2 separate regions of the Homo sapiens genome follow, and region 1 is linked to region 2. Evidence: promoter capture Hi-C in human tissues and cell types (Jung and others, 2019). All regions are on one chromosome and are shown on one strand. Each heading gives the region's core, a stretch centred on a gene start or on the middle of the fragment in contact. The rest is flanking DNA. Distances are from core to core; before and after follow the strand shown. Region 1 has its middle 14 kb from the start of TAF1B. Region 2 holds the start of IAH1 (isoamyl acetate hydrolyzing esterase 1 (putative)).

What was found. Contacts are between HindIII fragments. The study calls those that stand out against the background at their distance.
Region 1: a fragment that was not itself captured here is called in contact with the fragment with the promoter of IAH1 in region 2 in 1 of the 25 tissues and cell types used here (spleen).

Annotation. Positions count from the first base shown.
Region 1 is chr2:9,826,480-9,832,669 of GRCh38, forward strand. No RefSeq gene overlaps it. Among named protein-coding and RNA genes, the nearest start is that of TAF1B, 14 kb to the right of the region's middle. RefSeq lists an enhancer at 3,593-4,132. The HindIII fragment of the contact is 4,516 bases long and covers 1,731-6,190 here.
Region 2 is chr2:9,471,285-9,477,125 of GRCh38, forward strand. IAH1 (isoamyl acetate hydrolyzing esterase 1 (putative)) reads left to right here and starts at 3,267. Exons shown (of 6, transcript NM_001039613.3): 1 at 3,267-3,363; 2 at 4,703-4,755. The coding sequence starts at 3,283. CPSF3 (cleavage and polyadenylation specific factor 3) reads left to right here. Exons shown (of 18, transcript NM_016207.4): 17 at 59-155; 18 at 1,632-1,817. The coding sequence ends at 1,733. RefSeq lists a silencer at 3,039-3,808 and enhancers at 3,078-3,845, 4,326-4,886. The HindIII fragment of the contact is 18,322 bases long and covers 1-5,841 here.

The DNA of each region.
Region 1 (6,190 bases), core at 2,739-5,238, 360 kb after region 2:
TTTGTAAATTGATTATTTCCCAATAAAGGTTTTTGAACATGGGGTGTGATATAATTTGAAGGCATTATTGTGAGTACCAAATATGGTAAAATCTTACCTAACTGGAATTCAGCTAACCGCAATCCTTAATTAACAAATTTTCTTTTGCTAAACTTTCAGAACATAAAGGAACCTCTCTCTCTCTCTTTGTCTCTCTTTCTCTCTCTCTCTCTCACACACACACACACACACACATACGGAGTTATGAAATAGGAATAAATTTAATAAATATGTGCAATAGGTATACTCTGAAAACTATAAAACATTACTGAGAGAAATGAAGGAAGGTGAGTGTAAATGGTAAGATATACCACACTCATGGATTGAAAGACTCAATATTCTTTAAACGCTAGTTCTCCCTCAAATTGATTCTCTAGATGCAATACAATAATATTCAACATCTTAGCAGGTCTTTTAAAAAAAAAATTTAATAAGCAGACCAGGTGTGGTGGCTCACACTTGTAATCCCAGCACTTTAAGAGGCCAAGATGGAAGGTTGTTTGGGCCCAGAGGTTTGGGACCAGCCTGGCCAACATAGCAAGACCCCATCTCAATTTTAATAAAATAAAGAAAGAAATTTAATAAGAAATTTAAAAAATTTTATACATAGAATAGCCAAAACAATTGTGAAGAGGAACAAAATTGGAAGAGTTATGCTCTCTGGTTTCAAAACTTACTATGAAGCTAATAGTAATCAAGATAGTTTGGTATTCAAGTAAATTTTGACATACAGATCAATAAAACAGAATATAAAATTCAGAAATAGACCCACCCACACATATGGTCAACTGATTTTCAGCAAACGTGTCAAGACAATTAAATGGGGGGAAAGACAATCTTTTCAATAAAAGGTAGTGAAATCATTGGTTGACTCAATGTACAAAGATGAATCTTAACCTTACCTCACACCAATTCAAAAATTAACTTGAAGCAGATCATAAACTATATGTAAGAGCTAAAATTATAAACCTTTAAAAAAAAACAGAAGAAAATGTTAGTGATCCTGGGCAAGGCAACTATTTTAAAAATAGGGCACAAAAAGCAAAAACTACAAAAGAAAATACAAAACTACATCAAATTTGGACTTCATCAAAAATTAAAATGTCTGCTCTTTGAAAACACCATTAGGAAAATGAAAAGGCAAGTCTCATTGGCTTGTACCAGACTATATAAATGACTTGTACCAGAATATATAAAGAATTCTCATGGCTGGGCATGGTGGCTCATGCCCGTAATCCCAGCCCTTTGGGAGACTGAGGTGGGCAGATCACCTGAGGTCAGGAGTTTGAGACCAGCTTGGCCAACATGATGAAACCCCGTCCTACTAAAAATACGAAAATTAGCCTGGTGTGGTGGTGCGTGCCTGTAATCCCAGCTACTTGAGAGGCTGAGGTGGGAGAATCACTTGAACCCAGGAGGCAGAGGTTGCAGTGAGCCAAGATCACACCACTGCACTCCATCCTAGGCAACAAAGTGAGACTGTCTCAAAAAAAAAAAAAAAAAGAATTCTCACAACACAGTAATGATAAAAGACAATTAAAATTGTGTATAAGATTTGAGCAGATATTTTATCAAAAAAAATCACAGATGTCGAATAAGCACATGAAAAAAATGCTGAACATCATTAGTCATTAGGGAAATGTAAATTTAAACCAAAAGGAGATACCACTACATACACACTGAAATGGATGACATTCAAAAGATTGATAATGCCAAGCATTAGAATGGAACAACTTGAACTCTCATACACTGCTGAATACAAAACTGTACAATCATTTTAGAAAACAGCTTAGCCTAGGCTGGCACAAGGGCTCATGCCTGTAATCTCAGCATTTGGGAGGCTGAGGCAGGAGGATCGCTTGAGCCCAGGAGTTCAAGACCAGCATAGGCAACATAGACAGACCCTGTCTCTACAAAAAAAAAAAAAAAAAAAAAAATTAAAATAAAAAATTAGCTGGGCATGGTGGCACATGCCTGTAGTCTTAGCTACTCAGGAGGCTGAGGTAGAGGCATTGCTTGAGGCCAGGAGGGCTAGGCTGCAATGAGCCGTGATTGCACCACTGCACTCCAGCCTGGGTGGACAGAGTGAGATGCTGTCCCAAAAAAAAAAAAAAAAAAAAAAAAGTAAGAAAAAAAAAGAAGAAAAAGAAAAGAAGGGAAAGGAGAGGAGGGGAGGGGAGGGGATGGAAGAGGAGGAGAGGAGAGGAGAGGACAGGACAGGACAGGACAGGAAAGGAAAGGAAAGCAAAGCAAAGGAAAGGAAAGGAAAGGAGAGAAGTTTAGCATTCACTTATAAAGTTAACTATTCACTTACCATATGACTTGGAAATTCTATTCTTAAATATTTTCTCAAGTGTAGTGAAAACATGTCTACACAGAGATTTGTGCCTGAGTTTTCACAGCAGCTTTGTTCAGAGTAGCCACTGGAAGTGATCCAAATGTCCATCAGTTGGTAAATAGATAAAGAAAAATTACTAAGTGGAATACTACTCAGCAATTAATAGGTATGAGCTGATACATGCAGCAAAATAGATGAATTGCAAAGCACTACTAAGGCAAAAAAGACAACTCCCTGTATGCGCCCACTACATGAAGTTCTAGAAAAGGCAAACCTATAGTGATAGCAGATCAGTAGTTGCTAGCAGTTACGGGATTGGGTATAGAATTTAAAATTACATTTTTGGTACTGGTGGCACTGCTGTATACAGATGTCAAAACTCATCATTGTACACCTAAAATCGGTCAATGTTGTTGTATATAAATTCTACTTCTGCTGACATTTGAATTCCTCTTTGTCTACTTTTTTGTCATTCCTCTAGCCACTTAGCTGCTTCACATTTAAAGGTTCAGGACTGCCATGTCTGCTGTTACAAGGATAGAGTTTGTGTTTCTGTTTAGTTACTTTTCTTATTTTGGGGTAATTTTTCAGAGAAAAAATAAGTGGGAACATTTTTCCCTCATCATCTTAAATTTGGAAGTCCTATAGATGTTAGTTAAAGTCGTGGGGCTGGAGTTATCCCTATTCCTTCGCATATTCATGGACATTTTGAGACTGTGAATGAGTTCCCACAATGATGAATAAGGTCTCTGATCTCCCATATCTCCCCACTTCCTCTTCACCATCCCCCCAATATAGTTATAAAACAGTGTTAGTTATATCAGTAGTTAGGATATACTTTATTATGATTGTGCAGATGTCATTCACTAGAAAACCAGTAACTTAATGCCCATAACACCTTTCTTCCTCAGTTCTTCATTTTTACTAGAGTTGTTCATTTGCCACCTTTTTTTCATTTGTCTGATTTTCTACACACCCACCATTAATTTTTCCTAATGCCCCAACAAGTCAGCCTCAACTCCATCAGTAATGTTTTCCATTATCTCAAACATCGCATATATTCCTCTAATTCCCAGAGACCTCTTTCTCAGAGCCAGCCTTTCTTCCATTTATTCTGTTGAGACTGGATGCTGGGTGGATGTCATTCTGGTTTCTAGTCCCCATCATCCTGGGGGTTCATCCATATTTTGGATCTCTTGCTTCCTGATATCTTGGTCCATGTGTTCTTTTCTTGGTTACTCCCTTGTTTTTTGTTTGTTTGTTTTTTGTTTTGTTTGTTTGAGATGGAGTCTCGCTCTGTCACCAGACTGGAGTACAGAGGCGCAATCTCGGCTCACTGCAACCTCCGCCTCCCAGGTTCAAGTGATTCTCCTGCCTCAGCCTCCTGAGTAGCTGGGACTACAGGCACACACCAACATGCCCAGCTAATTTTTGTATTTTTATTAGAGACGGGGTTTCACCATGTTGACCAGGCTGGTCTCAAACTCCTGACCTTGTGATCCACCCACCTCGGTCTCCCAAAGTGCTGGGATTACAGGCGTGAGTCACTGTGCCCAGCCCTAGACTTTTATTTAAAATGAGACTTCTGTGGCTCTGTTACTCTCCTTCCTGGAAGGGAGGGAGGAGCAAGACCGGTTTGCCCCAAGCCTATAAATGGAATAAACCAGTCCCCAACAGGTTCTGCAACTTGCCTGAGATCTTATCGCTCCTGAGTTTGGGAAACTCTTGAGTTATTTAAGCCACACTCTTAGAAGGTTGTTTTGCTTCTGTTTAATTGGGGCTGTGCCTTCTGGCTGTTGAGCTCCTTTGACAAAGTGATTTTGCATCCAGAGTACTTTATTCATTCATCCATTCATTCACTAAAAAAACCTTTATTAAGCACTTGGTCTGTTAGCAGAAAAAGTAGGCTCTTTGGAACAGGCAGAACTGAGTTAAGTTCCCTCTTGGCCTCTTGCTGGTTGGGTGACCTGATTAGTCCTCCTGAGCCTCAGTTTCCTTTACTGTTTAATGACAACAGTTAAGAGATCATTTGGGTAATGGGCCTGGTACAGTGCCTGACAGAGTCTGTGCCTAGCAAATACGCACTCCTTATCCTTCCCCAGGGCTATGCAAACTGCAAGTGGTTTCAGTTTCAGTTATGGGCAGACCAGGCTACCAGCAGGCCTTGGAGCGCCTGGAGGATCCATTCAGAGGGCAAGTGCTGGATACTCTCTTCTCTCTAGCAGGAACATGGAGGGTGGATGAGAAGCAGCAAGGATGATGTTTGCTTTCTGGATCATCCCTGTGCCTTGTGATTAGCATTTAATAGGCTCCCAGAAAGCTTTGAAGATAATCATATGTCTACCCCTCCCTTTTGACTGATGATCTTGACGTGATATACGCTTATGTCAGTGAGGAAATAGGGAGGCTCTTGCAATGAGCCAAGAGTTGCTCTTTAGCTTTCAAAAACGTAAAGTCTAGTGAAAATTCAGCCCACAATGGAGTGGCACAGGAATTTGTCTTCAGAAATGCCTCCTCCACAAAGCTGTTTTGTGGGAATGAACAGGGGATGATATGGTAAAATAAGCCTAATGACAATTTATGGTCTTTATACCTCACTTTTCCGTGTACAAAGTTTTGACAAAGCCCTTGTATATCCATCATCCCATTCGTGCCTTCAAGCCCCATAAGGTGGTTTGATAAAGTTATCACCCCCATACTGCAGATAAGAAAACTGAGACTCACTGAAGCGATTTGTCCAGGCCATATAGCTAGCAGGGAAGTAGGAGGGCCAGGACTTAAATCTACTCTCTTGAGTCCAGAGACCCTGCTCTGCTGCCTCAAGGTAGCATTTAGCTATTGCCACACCTCTTTAGCTAAACTTTTAGCTGACTTGTCCTGAGTTCTAAGTCCTGGGATGTTGGCAATATCAGGGGGTGAGGAGGAGGCAGTGGGACCAGCTCCAATGTGGCCACACCTGAATATCAGGGTATCAGGGATGCAGCCTAGCTGAGTTGTGGCCACATTCCTTGAATTCCCGTGACCTGGTCACATAAGAATAATGCAGCCCCTGGGGTGGTCTCATCAGAGCCAGATCTATCCGTCTCACCACTCAAGGGCTCACTCCTGTAATTCTGCCTCTCTCCAACGTAACCCACGATTGATTTCCACTAGCATACAAAATGCTGCAGTCGTTCATATTCCCTTCAGCTCCTTTCCGCTCTTGCCCAAGTTTCTGCTCCCCCTTTCAGGGAGTTGTCACCACTTGTGTCCCCTTTCCCTCCTCCCATTCTGCCTTAAACCTGTTCCAATTAAACTTTCATCCTTATCACTTTCCTGAAATCACCGTGTCAATGCTGTGTATCTTGCTGAGTCCTATGCTGAACTCACTCAAACTCTTAATAGCATTTGACATTTCTTTCTTCTTGAAACTTGCTTCATGTGGCTTCCGGTCACCACACTCCTCTGGTTCTCTTCCTTCTCCATCATCTTTGCTGGATGCTTCTGCTGTCCCTGACATCTAATGCTATGGTGTCCTGTGACTTAGCCCTGGGCTGTCTTCTCCCACCTGCCATCTACCCTCACTTCCTAGGTGTCTTCACTTTGTCCATGGCTTTATATTCCCCATAGACACTGATGACTTCCAAATTCATATCTCCAGCCAGAACATCTCCTTGGAATTCCAGACTCATGTGTTGACTTCCTCCTCAATATTTTCTCTTGTATTTCCAATAGACATGTCAAATTTTGTCCCAAATCTTGAGTTTTCACCCCAATATCTGCTCACAGTGATCTTGTAGTCTCCTCCACTCACTACAGCATGGCATCCTTGAT
Region 2 (5,841 bases), core at 2,017-4,516:
TCCTCAAATATATAAAGCCGGGCATTTTCACTAATCCTGCATTTCTGCTTATTTTCAGGGACATATTTGGAGAAGACTGTGTAAGTGTAAAGGATGACTCTATTCTTAGCGTCACAGTGGACGGGAAAACTGCCAACCTTAACTTGGAGACACGGGTATGTAGCTGCTCTTTCCTACGTTTCAAGACATTTGGGAAATAAAGTGAAGGCATAAATAATCTGTGCTCTCACACTCAACAGTCTACTGTTGCATATTGGCATTTGCTTCCAGTGTTTCCAACATTTTTTTCACATTGTTCTTTTTATATTATTATGGTTGAAGTTTTCCGTGTTTTTCCGGGTTACTGCATAGTACAAGGTTCGCGTGTATGCCACTCCATTGCTGTCCTCTTCCATAATACAGCTTAGTTCACCTCATCCCTTCTCTAGTTTGGCATCTAGTTGACTCTCCATTTTTTAAAGAAGCCGCTCTTCTGTTTGCACCAGCAAGATCCAAGTGGATTTTCCAAACAGTTCAAAACCAGCCCGGGCAACACAGTTAAACCCCATCTCTACTAAAAAATACAAAAAAAATTAGCCGGGAATGGCGGCAGCTGCCTGTAGTCCCAGCTACTCAGGAGGCTGAGGCAGGAGAATTGCTTGAAACAGGGAGGCAGAGGTTGCAGTGAGCCAAGATCACATTACTGCACTCCAGCCTGGATGATAGAGCGAGACTCTGTCTCCAAAAAAAAAAAAAAAAAGAACTAGAGGCCAGGCGTGGTGGTTCACGCCTGTAATCCCAACACTTTGGGAGGTCAAGGTGGGTGGATCATCTGAGGTCAAGAGTTTGAGACCAGCCTGGCCAACATGATGAAACCCCATCTCTACTAAAAATACAAAAATTACCCAGGCGTGGTGGTGTGCCTGTAATCCCAGCTACTTGGGAGGCTAAGGCAGGAGAACCCAGGAATCACCTTAACCCAAGAGACAGAGGTTGCAGTGAGCTGAGATCACATCACTGCACTCCAGCCTGGGCGACAGAGCGAGATTCTGTCTCAAAAAAAAAAAAAAAAAGAAGCAACTAGAAGATTATTAGTGAGTTTCAGTCAAATTCAGTACCAAATGTTGAGTAGATAGCCACATCCATTCCTTGCCAAGTAATTTGTGTGGCATAGATGAACTTCCCTGGAGTATCATTTACTAGATCAAACTGTGGGCTTTGATGTAAATGTAGTTTACTAGACTTTCCCCAGTCTTTCACCCCAGCCTCAAGTCATCACTAATTAGGACCGTGCTGCTGTCAGGAAGCACTGCACGCCCACAAGTGTGTAGGGCGGCCGTTCTGTTTCATGGTAATCAGTCCCACCATGACCTCTGCACACACAGATGATTGTTCTTTTTTTTAGTTTGAGACCCGGTCTCGCAGTGCCGCCCAGGCTGGAGTGCAGTGGTGCAGTCACAGCTCACTGCAGCCTCAACCTTCCCGGCTCAGTGATCCTCCCACCTCAGACTCTTATCTGGGACCACAGGCACACGCCACCACAGCTGGCTAATTTTTTATGAGATGATGGTTTTTTTAAAGAGTATTCATTTATCTTCTATATAATCATTATAGACTTAATTCTAACAGTCTTGTTTGTGCCTCACTTTCAGACTGTAGAATGTGAAGAGGGAAGTGAAGACGATGAATCCCTCCGAGAAATGGTGGAGCTGGCTGCACAGAGACTGTACGAGGCCCTGACGCCAGTTCACTGAGACTGTGCCTGTATATGAACTTTGAAAAAATACTTGACTCTACTTTTGTTACCTAAAATAAAATGCATTCGTTTCTCTGGGGGAGCCTGTTTACTTTTAATGTCAAATGGCCTTTATTTCAACAGCCTGAATACTGCTAAATTGCTAATTAATTTGTCCATTATTCTAGAACTAACTACTAGATCAACTGCCCATTATTTTAGAATTTTGGATTCTTCTTCCAGGCATGTATGTGCAGCTCCCATTGAAACCATCAAGATCTGCCGATAGCAACCGCTGCTGGTTACCCTCTCCTCTGGGGTAACCAATTTGAGTTAATAATAAGGATTCTAAGTTGCACTTGAATCTTTTCTGTCTTCATCTCCACTGCTGCTGTTCGAGTCCAAGTCTACTCTCCCCTCTGAATTCCTGCAACCACCTCCATCTCCTCCCCTATAGCTGATTCCTGGAACAGACCTGGCCTCAAGCCTCTGCTGCTTGAAGGCCTTAATGAAGTCCTTGTGATAAAGATGAAGTCCAGGCACCTTTGCTTGCTCTAGCAGGGGCTCTCAATCTGGGCTACCCGTGGGAATCACGTGGGGTGCATCACAAGTGCACCTGTGCCCAAGTCCTGCCACCAGGAGGTGAGTTAGTCCGGCTGGAATGAGGGCCCTAGGTTGGATCTTAGTTGTAAAGCTCCCCCAGGTGATCCAAGCGAGCTTGGGACGAGCAACCTAAAGAAAGTCATGCTCTACGCCCATCGCCCCGCCCCAGGGAGCGGGGTCGGCCTCTGCGCCGGCGCCCCTGGCCCTTCTGTTACTCATCTACAGCTCCGTGATTTCAAGGCATCCTTCCCACCCGTTCGTTTTTAGCTCGGCTGCCGAACTTCATTGCACAGTTGAGGTAAGAACGTTGCATTACAACCACGTTTTAACAGGTGAATCCCTTGGAAGTTAGTCAGTGCTCCGTGTCCGCGGGGTTCTGCATCTGCGCATCCACCCCACGGCGGGAAAAAGAAAAGCGGCCGGCTGCGCGCGCACTGAAGGTGCAGCTGCTTTCCCTTGTCATTCGCAGAACCACGAGGTACTGCCAGGGTTTCCGCAGTGCCTGCGTCCTCGTGGGTGTTACAGGCCCTCCAGAGTGACGCTGGGCGCAGGAGGCCGCGCGCGCATCCCACGACCTCTTCCAGGGGGGCCTGGAGCAGCCCTCCGCCCCACCGAGAGCCAGCTGTGCTTCCCGCCGCGCGTCCTGAGGTCACACTCCTGCCCTTTGCCGAACGCACCTGCGCCCGCGGAGCGCGGGGTGGGCTTAGAAGGGCCCCCAACCGCTTTTCTTCCGGGAACCACGCAGCGGGACGCGGGCTCCGGACTCCCTGGGGGCAGCCTTGCTGTGGGTGAGCAAGCGCGGAGGCCGAGCTTCTTGCAAACGGACTCCAAGGGGCAACGACCTTCGCGCGTCACCAAAGTGACTGCGTGGGTGCCCACGAGCCCGGCTCCCGCAACCCACGGGCGGCCACTGCGCAGGCGCCTCTCGTGGCTGGCGGCCCCGCCCCGCCCCGCCCGGCTGCTCCATGGCGCTGTGCGAGGCCGCGGGCTGCGGGAGTGCCCTGCTCTGGCCTCGCTTGTTGCTCTTCGGGGACTCCATCACCCAGGTACGGCCGCCCCGACGCTCGGCCTCCCGCCCCGGCCTCCCTGCGGGGTCGCTGCCGAGCAGGCCGAGGCTCCTCGCCGTCCTCTTCGGCGCCCGAGACGGCTGGGCCGGAGGCCTGGCCACGCCCGTGGAGACACCGGAGGAGTGGCGGGTCCCCCAGTGGCTGCGCCTTCCGGGCCCGCGGCGTCCCGGAGGTCACGACGGCGTCCGCGAGAGCCCGGGCTCCAGGCACAGACGCGAGGGGACCCGGCCGCGCTGCCCGCCCCGCGCCGCCTCCCACCCGGGTCGAGATGCGCGGTCTTCCCCTCAGCGCCCTCCTGGGCAGCGGCCTTTCCCCTCCGGGTCCGGGTTAGCGGCCGCGGGCGACCGCGCGCTGTGTCCCAGGAGGCCCCGCGGCCAGCTCCGGGCAGAGGCGCCAGGAGCTCTCTCGCCCCATTCCCTGCGGGCACAGGTGGGGCCGTTAGGGGTTGACCTTGGAAGTAAAACGCCTTCAGGAATTAGGTAGAAAAGGACCATCCGTTCATCCAAGATCATCTCACCTCCCATGAAGGGAACGGTCTTCTAAATGCAGGTTCTTACTTCGGGGAGGGAGTAGAAATTCCATTCCTGTGTGTGTCCTCTTCTCAGACAGGACTTGCTTCACCAGGCTTTTGTGTATACGCCAGTAACTGGTAACATTATGTTTAGGCATATGGGGCAGTCAGAGCTGCCGAATTCCATGGGAATGTGTATGAAAAAGTGTTCACCCTCAGCTCGGTAACCAGCAAAGCAGTGAGGCGGTGTGGCCTTCATTTCCTCACTGACCTTTGACTTTATTTCCTGAACTTAGATTTCTGTTTAGCTTTTTTTTTTTTTTCTTTTTTTCTTTTTTTGAGACGGAGTCTCGCTCTGTCGCCCAGACTGGAGTGCAGTAGCGCGATCTCGGCTCACTGCAAGCTCCGCCTCCCGGATTCAAGCGTTTCTCCTGCCTCAGCCTCCCGAGTAGCTGGGATTATAGACGTGCGCCACCACACCGGGCTAATTTTTGTAATTTTAGTAGAGACGGGGTTTCGCCATGTTGACCAGGCTGGTCTCGAACTCGAGACCTCATGTGATCCGCCCGCCTTGGCCTCCCAAAGTGCTGGGAATACAGGCTGTTTAGCTTTTGATAGAGAAAAATCCCCCTCTGCTAAAGTGCTGCCAGGTGTACTTACCTGTAATCCCCAAAATGACCTCCTGGAGTGAAGCAATCAAAGCCAAGAAGGGAGCGCCGAGAAAACAGAAGTTGCCAATCAGAACTGCCCTCGCTGAGATGCCCGGTTACAGTCATTAGTAGTAATAATGGGCTTTTCTTCCTCCAGTTTTCCTTCCAGCAGGGTGGATGGGGAGCATCGCTGGCTGACAGGCTGGTCAGGTGAGAATGGTTTCCGATACTTGAGTTCTTATGGATGGAAAATGTCTTAGGGATCCGTCTTATGGATGAAGGATAGTTCTGAACAGAACATTCCTCCTTTATTAATTTTGCTTGCCTCCCCTAATCAGTATATAGGAGAAGGAACAGAAAACATTTACTCTTCACTCAGTCTGACCAATTAGATATTTTAGGGTTGAGCACTGATGGCTGGGTAGACTCAGACAAATCAAGGAAATGGCCAAGGCCTCTTCCCTAGTCAGGGGCAGACAGATCCAAGTCCAGCTGCTATGACTGCAGAACTTGCAGTTTCACTGCTACACCACACTGGTAGGAAGCTACTTTGCCTTTTTTTGAAGTGCTGCCATGACTTAAGACTCACCTTGTCACAATTCTACCGCACTTTGTTTTGGTTTTTGGTGGTTTTTGTTTTGCGACAGGGTCTCTTGTTAGGCGCGTCCACGTGAAGAGACCACCAAACAGGCTTTGTGTGAGCAACAAGGCTGTTTATTCACTTGGGTGCAAGTGGGCTGAGTCTGAAAAGAGCAAAGGGAGATGGGTAGGGCAGTACTATAGGATTTGGGTAGGTAGTGGAAAATTACAGTTAAAGGTGGTTATCTATTGTTAGCAGGGGAAGGGGGTCACAAGGTGCTCTGTGGGGAGCTCCTGAGACTCATTGTCCAGGGGAGGAATGCCACAAGGTCGATTGATTAGTTAGGGTGGGGCAGGAACAAATCACAATGGTGGAATGTCATCAGTTAAGGCAGGAACTGGCTGTTTCACTCCTTTTGTGGTTCTTCAGTTGCTCCAGGCCACCTGGATGTATACGTGCAGGTAACAGGTTATGACGGCTTAGCTTGGGCTCAGAGGCCTGACAACTCTGTCACACAGGCTTGAGTGCAGCAGTGTGATCAGGGCTCACTGCAGCCTCCACCTCTGGGGCTGAAGGCATCATCACCTCAGCCTCCTGAGTAGCTGGGACCAACAGGCACTCGCTACCACACCCAGCCCAGCACTTCATTAAAGTATTGTGATTTCACTCTGTAAAATGGCTAGTCGCATTTTATAATCATTACACACACAAACAAT